Linked DNA regions of Homo sapiens: region 2 is linked to region 1. The links are contacts of gene promoters, found by promoter capture Hi-C in human tissues and cell types (Jung and others, 2019). All regions are on one chromosome and are shown on one strand. Each heading gives the region's core, a stretch centred on a gene start or on the middle of the fragment in contact. The rest is flanking DNA. Distances are from core to core; before and after follow the strand shown.

The links. The method cuts DNA at HindIII sites, captures the fragments that hold promoters and counts their contacts. A contact is called where the count stands out against the background at its distance.
Region 2: a fragment that was not itself captured here is called in contact with the fragment with the promoter of OTOR in region 1 in 1 of the 25 tissues and cell types used here (lymphoblastoid cells).

The regions. Positions count from the first base shown.
Region 1 is chr20:16,746,395-16,749,926 of GRCh38, reverse strand. It overlaps OTOR (otoraplin), which reads right to left and starts at 1,569. Exons shown (of 4, transcript NM_020157.4): 1 at 1,411-1,569; 2 at 921-1,060; 3 at 1-24. The coding sequence starts at 1,525. The HindIII fragment of the contact is 9,309 bases long and covers 1-3,532 here.
Region 2 is chr20:14,839,125-14,842,873 of GRCh38, reverse strand. The region is part of intron 5 of MACROD2 (mono-ADP ribosylhydrolase 2); the gene reads right to left. Among named protein-coding and RNA genes, the nearest start is that of MACROD2-AS1, 89 kb to the left of the region's middle. The HindIII fragment of the contact is 7,476 bases long and covers 1-3,749 here.

The DNA of each region.
Region 1 (3,532 bases), core at 320-2,819:
CTCGTCCTGGCCATCACCATAAACCTAAGTGCCCAGAAGAATAGCAATCAGGAAAAAGCTGATGCTGAGTGTCTTCTGAGAAACTCGCAGGCGTCCTCTTTGCTGATAGTGAGAATCATAGCTGCCAATACCTCCCTTTCACTCCGGGGTCCAGGGGGCGCTGCGGCAAATCCGAAGTTTACTTGGAGCACTAAGTTAACCCGCAGGAATTGTGCATCTACTGTTTAGTGGCCCAGTCTTATTTCGCTACTTTAGCATGACTTTATTTTACGCAATCTTGTGAGTTGCCTGAAATCTTTTTTGAACCCATAAATAAATATATAAAGACAGTACATTTTTTTAAAGTACTGTAGACACTTATTTTAAATGATGCAAATTTCTCAGTTTTCAACAATTCAAATGAACAGACTTAAATGGCTTTAAATTTAATCCTTCATTAATTTAGAACTTACCTTTAGGGTTGCAGATGAGGACAGAAAATCATCCCTGCTTCATCCCTCCCCAGGGACCGCCCCTGTATATTTTAACTGAAGAACGCTGATTCTTTCGAATTAATTAGGGTGCAAAGTTTCCTAAAAGAATATTGATACTTAGACTCACTGCCAACACACATGCCTTCTACTTGGCAAATCTTCTCAGACGTTTTCGGATAAGATTCAAATTCTTTGGGATGTTTAAGCCCCCATGTATTTGACTCTTTTTTTACCAAAATATCACATTAACCTACATTTGGTTTTGTTACGAAATTGATCTTTCTTTCTTTAAAATGCAATAGCAAATATACCTGAATTTTTGCATTTCCATCTACAATCACTACATGGTTCTTAACAACTAGTATTAAGCATTAAAATAGGTTGAAGGTAGGTAATCAAGGAAAGGTTAAGAGCAATATTCGTCAATAGGTGTTTAAATTATCTTACACTGCCAGCCCAAAATTCTCCAGCTCCATTTTCTTTTACCAGCTTTGAGTACACATAGATCTGCTGCCCTTTTTTAACGTTAATGAATCTACAGTCCGGGGCATTATAATCTTCTTGAGCACTAGCCAGAGAAATAGTATCTGGAAGAAAAAAAATTTAAATGATTACATTTTAGGCTCCTGAATTTTATAACAGTAAAAGGCAATGTATATTAGAAAAACTAGAAAATCAGAGTGACTGATAATTCCCAGTTCATAGCTGGTGTCTATCCAAGAGAAAGAAGACAGCCAAGATATTAAAGCTGCAACAAAACTCAGCCAAGTGAATTCTCCGTAGTAAGATACCAAACATGCAGACCAGAAGAAACAAAGCTGATAACATACACATTGGAGAAGATTCACTTCAAAGTATAATTCGATTTTATGCTATTAGTGGATATATTTTCAATTATGTAATAGAAAGATAATGAAAAGCATAAAAAAGTCCTTACAGACACACTCATCATCTGCACAGAGCTTCTTGGAAGCTAGACGGTCCATAAATATTCCATGCACAGCACATACAGCCACAAGACCCGGGAGGAAAAGTAACAATATTCTTGCCATCTTCCTTTTTTCTGTTTTAACTTGAACTCTGACTGGAAGCGGGGACTGACTTCAGTGGTTCCTGCCTTTTATGTGAAAGCCAGAGCTCTGGGTAAATACCCTGGCCAATTAGAAGGGCCTACCACCCCTCCGTTTTCATAACAGGCTGCTCGGCTTCAGGGGCTATTTAGCGTCTGATTTTCCAAACAGAGTCAAACTCTGTGTCTTTCTATACACAGATAATATCCAAAATGGTCCACTATTGTTAAAGCCGCTTTAGCAGTGGTCTATTGTATCAATCAGTAGGGCTTTGCTGAGAGGACTATGAGAATTTCAAACCATTTTTAGTTTTAATTCACCCCTAATTTTCCTTCAGCTTATGAGCAAAGACATACTAGTTGTAGGAATTTGTTGAAAATGTGAGATCTATAGCACAAATAATTTGATTTAAACAAATTCAATTAATAAATCTGGATTTACGTAATAGATAAATGAAAGATTCTTATGCTTACAAATCTTTCATGATAGGATTCTTAGAAGGCATGCCTGTCCCAGGCTAGAGATGAATTCTAACATACTAATTGATGCCCCATTTAGACCCTACCAGTGGGGAAAGAGATGGGTGGGTTGGGAAAAATAGGTCAATCTTTCCCCTACCTCTTCTCTCTAAGACTTTTGCAATTCAGTCTCAAATGCTCAAGGGTGACAGGTCAAAGAGAAGAGAGTGAAGTTACAAGTTTATGTTACCTGGAACTTCCTGCTTCTGAGCATGTTTCCCATGGGGAGAGGAGCACTCCTAGAGGCACCAAAGTGGAACCGCCAGTCCCTAGCTCCGTCTATTCAGCAAATATTTACTGAGCACTTACTGTGCCAGGTATAGTTCTGGGCACTAAAGATATAGCAGTAAATTTAAAAAAAATATTTTGGCCCCAAGTGTTGCTTTCTATTAGAAGAGACAGACAGTAAGTTACTGCTTTTTATAGGGTGTTTGAGGCTGGCATCTCTCCCATAAGGTGGCCCTTCCCCTGTTCTTATCCATTGCTTCTAGAATAGAGATCCTCTCAGGATGCCTTCTCCACCTTGGTTGATGATGTGACTTCGGAGCAGTGCCTTCTCCCCCAACCCCAAAGTCGTAACCTCATAAAATGAGGGACAAGAATTTAACTTACTAAATAATTTTGTGCAATACAATTTCCCAAGGGATAAATGGGTAAGGCAAAATATAATAAAAAGGTTTTTTGTTTTGGGTATATGTGTGTGTGTGATAGAGTTGTATTGGTTTGAGTGCATCTGTGTGTGTATGTAAAAGAGTTTTGGTGTGGGTATGGGTGTGGGTATGTGTGGCTGTGTGTGAGTGTGTGTGTGTGGCTGTGTGTGTATGTGTGTGTGACTTTCAAGGGAGGATCTTTTATATAGCTGGTCCTGATTGGAAAGTCTGTTTTATTCATACCTTCATTATAGACAAGGAAACTGAGGCACAGCAAATGCCAGAGTGGTCTTTTTGTTTTTTGTTGCTTTTTTTTTTTTTTTTTTTTTCCGAGATGGAGTATTGCTCTGTCACCCAGGATGGAGTGCACTGGTGCAATCTCGGCTCACTGCACCCTCTGTCTCCAGGGTTCAAGCAATTCTGCTGCCTCAGCCTCCCAAGTAGCTGGGCTGGCAGGTGTGCACCACCATGCCCAGCTAATTTTTGTATTTTTAGTAGAGACGGGGTTTCACCATATTGGCCAGCCTGGTCTCAAACTCCTGACCTCAAGTGATCCGCCCTCCTCAGCCTCCCAGAATGCTGGGATTACAGGCATGAGCCACCGCACCTGTCCTAAAGTGGTCATTTTGAACCATCCTATCTAAAGGTTACCAGAGGGATCATGGTTCAATGCTATTTCAATTCATTGTTGTCAACTTGGAATTGACAAATTAGAATAAATCATTTATTTCCTGTTTCACATCAAGGAAAGATTGAATTCGATATTATTTTTGAAAGCAGAATGCCTTTCCAATTTTTCCCCTGTAATCAATCTAAAGGTC
Region 2 (3,749 bases), core at 107-2,606, 1.9 Mb after region 1:
AATGACTCCTAGAGTTCATTTTCTTTTCTGATTGAATATTGGACTCTGTTGTTTCACTGAAGACTTCAGTGTACTATGGATGGCATTTCAAGTGCTACTGATTTCCTATATCTGAATGAAAAACATTAATCCAAAACCAAACTAACTGTAGAGATAGAAAAAGATCAGTGTGGAAAGCCAAAGAACATCAAAAATGTCTCAACAATTGTAGGGTATCATTTTCTACTTTAATCGCACACAAATATCTGCTTTGAGTCTAAAAAGCTATCCATCAGTGTTCTCTTTAAAGCTATTATATCTGCCTTAATAATAAGACATTACAAAGCCTAATAGCATACACTTTATATTTCCTCAGATATACTGTAAACAGAACAGAAAAGAGTATCACTATAAATAATTTTTAATAAAGACAGGTCTCAATTTTAAGAAAATACCTCTACATGTAAGTGTTTCAGTGAAATATTCAGGACTAAAGATTACTGCTCTGGGGAGACTTCAGAAAAAAGGTACTGCTATGGTTTGAATGTCCCCTCCAAAATTCATGTTGAAATTTAATTGCCATTGTGATCTTGAGAGGTGGGACCTCTAAGAGGTGATTAGGTCAGGGGGCAGCACCCTCCTGAATGGATGAAGGCTGTTATCATGAGAGTGGGTTTATTATTGCAGAAGTGGGACAGTTATAAAAGAAGGGAGTTAGGCCACATTTCCTCTCTCTAGAGAACGGTCGGTCTCGCCATGCGATGCCTTCAATCATGCCATGATGCAGCAAGAAGGCACTCACCAGATGCAGCCCTTTAATTTTGGACTTCCCAGCCTCTAGACTCGTGAATAAACAAACAAACAAACAAACAAAAAACCTCTTTTCTTTGTAAGTTACCTAGTTGGTGGTATTCTGTTATACAGCAGCAGAAAATGGATGAAGACAGGTACTTATAAAAAAATCACTAAGAATGTCTTAATGTCTAAATGGGGTAGGAAAGGGGGAATGACATGGTCTCTACTCTATAGTACCCAAAATAAAAGTCTTAAAACCAATCTTAGTATAAGTAATACCAAGGTCATAGAATATTTCTTTATTACCCAAAATATGCAATTCCTTTCGTGGTGCATTACCACCTTATAAATGACAGGTAATAAAAGAAAACTCAAGTTTACTTATAATAATGTCATTTTAACTTTCATTTACAACATTGTTTTGCAGTAACTGCCTTGATGAAGGATATTCAAGCTGAAATACAATAGAACAGCAAGACACTTCTATCTGATCACCTACAAAAGCTGCATTGTAGTGTCATTCAAATACATTGTATGTGGCAAGGGCTGCCTTTCTATATTCTTTTTTTTTTCCTGAAAACATCTACTTGAAAGGTAATCTCAGGTAGTCTCCAACACTGTAAGCTAAGGTTTTGAAAGTTAGGGGAAATATTTCAAAGATCCATTACTTCTTTATCTTTTCCATGACAGTGAAGACGGTGGGGTTTCCCCTTGCCCCTCACCTCAGTGGAAAGTTTCTATTAGAACAAATTACAAAGTAATTAGTTCATTCACTCAATCTACATTAATGAGGGAATTTTTCAATCAAAACCTCTGATTTGATTGTCAGAGAAACTCTCAGAGGAATGCCTATTTAATTTCTTTTCTTCATTATTTTATCTATGTGATAAAGTTATCTTATAGAACATCAGTCATTTAACTATAACTGAGTTCTCTATTTTCACAATTGTTTAAATGCACAGAGATATCAATGGGAATATTTCTCATATTGGTCAAAGGAAAATATTTAGAGTGTAAGCAATAAAAAAATTTAACATTAAAATATGTTATTTTTTACACTCTTAGAGTTATTCTTAGTTTTGACCTGAAATTTACAAATACATTTTTTGAAATAATAACACTCGTTTCACGTCATACAGTAAAAGTTAAGTATTATTATGGAACATCTGATGAAGACAAATCACTCTGACTTATTTCAGAGTGCAGTGTCCTCATACTAGCCCTGCACTCTTTAAGCCAAATTCCATTTTTCATCCTGAAACCTATCAGAATCATGATAAAATATTATAGAACACTGTGATGAGCTTTCAGATAAGAGCAAAGAGTAAAGTGAAAAAGACTTCTTATGTTCCTGAAATGACCTTTCCTTGAAAGAACCTGTCAACCTTTCCAATGAGAGAACATCAATATTTTTAGGGCCAGTTTAACTCAACCTTCCTCTTTTTCTTTTAGTTTTAATGTATGTTGTTCTGGCTGATAAGAGTATTGATTATAGTCTCCCAAGTCTCTCTGGACACAAATGAACAAGTACCTACAGAGGAAAACCCTCCAAGAACACCAGGAGACTGGGCATGGGGGCTCAGGCCTGTAATCCTAGCACTTTGAGAGGCTGAGGTGGGAGGATTGCTTGAGTCCAAGAGCCCAAGACCAGCCTGGGCAACATGGCAAGACCTTGTCCCTACTGGAAAAAAAGAACAGCAGAAAATTATTTTAAGCTTGATCAATTTACTCTTTCAGGAAGCCAGTTTAAGATGGAGATTCTGGCCAGGCGTGATGGCTCACGCTTGTAATCCCAGCACTTTGGGAGTCTGAGATGGACAGATCACTAGAGGCCAGGAGCTCAAGACCAGCCTGGCCAACATGGCGAAACCCCGTCTCTAGTAAAAATACAAAAATTAGCCAGCCATGGTGGCAGGCACCTGTAGTCCCAGCTACTTGGGAGGCTGAGGCAGGAGAATTGCTTGAACCTGGGAGGCAGAGGTTGCAGTGAGCGGAGATAGTACCACTGCACTCCAGCCTGGGCAACAAGAGTGAAACTCCATCTCAAAAAAGAAAAAAAAAAAAAAGACATGGAGACTCTAAAAGATGTTTTATATACTAGCTGCAAGTAGAAGGATGAGTAACAAACATCCCTGAGAACAAAGGAAGAGGGAAGAGACATTTTACCATTTTCATCACCCCTTTCCAATTTGAGAAAATGGAGAGCAAAAGGTGTCTGGTAGTTTAAAGATTCAGCAGTAGAATATTGAGAATTTCTGGTAAAACCTAATCTAAAATTTTAGAAAATTCCTGCTTATACCTATAATCGGAATTCAGCAGTGTTGGTGAAGTTGGGGAGGGGGCTCTCTTTTTCCTAATATCCAAAAATCAGTTCTCCTCTTCCAAATATAAGTTTTACCCAAATACTGGCCATCTGATCAATGTCCACCAGTATCATGTTAAATGGTCAATGCCTCCAAATCACTGTCAGTTCTGGGGACATACTCAGAGACAACTATAAGAGACTGGAGCAAAAATTACTTAGGAACCAATTTTAAGCCCCACCATGCCATGATAAACATTATTTTATGGGAAATGGGAAACCTCAAGTGACCCAGCCCATATAACTTGCATGTGTGTGTCAACTGGAGATGGGCCAACAGCCATTACAAAGATCATGTTTCTTTGTCTTACATGCTGGTATTCCAAAGGCAATGTAATTTAAGACAAAAGCTGCTTTTCCAATGTCCACAAAGTACTCAGCTTAAATCAAATTCTTTCATGCGATCTCTCATTCCATCAGACTTGTGTTTTAAAGTATTAAGAAGCTAAAAGGAGTTCAAAATCACAAAGGGAAATGCAAATCAATCTACAACAAATCAGCTAACAGGTGCCCTGGAAGAGAATTTTATTGCTACTGACATTAGCCACTTACTTATCACTGATGCTGTCTTCTTTATGGATAATATGCACTTCTCCCCCTCACAACTTGGAGT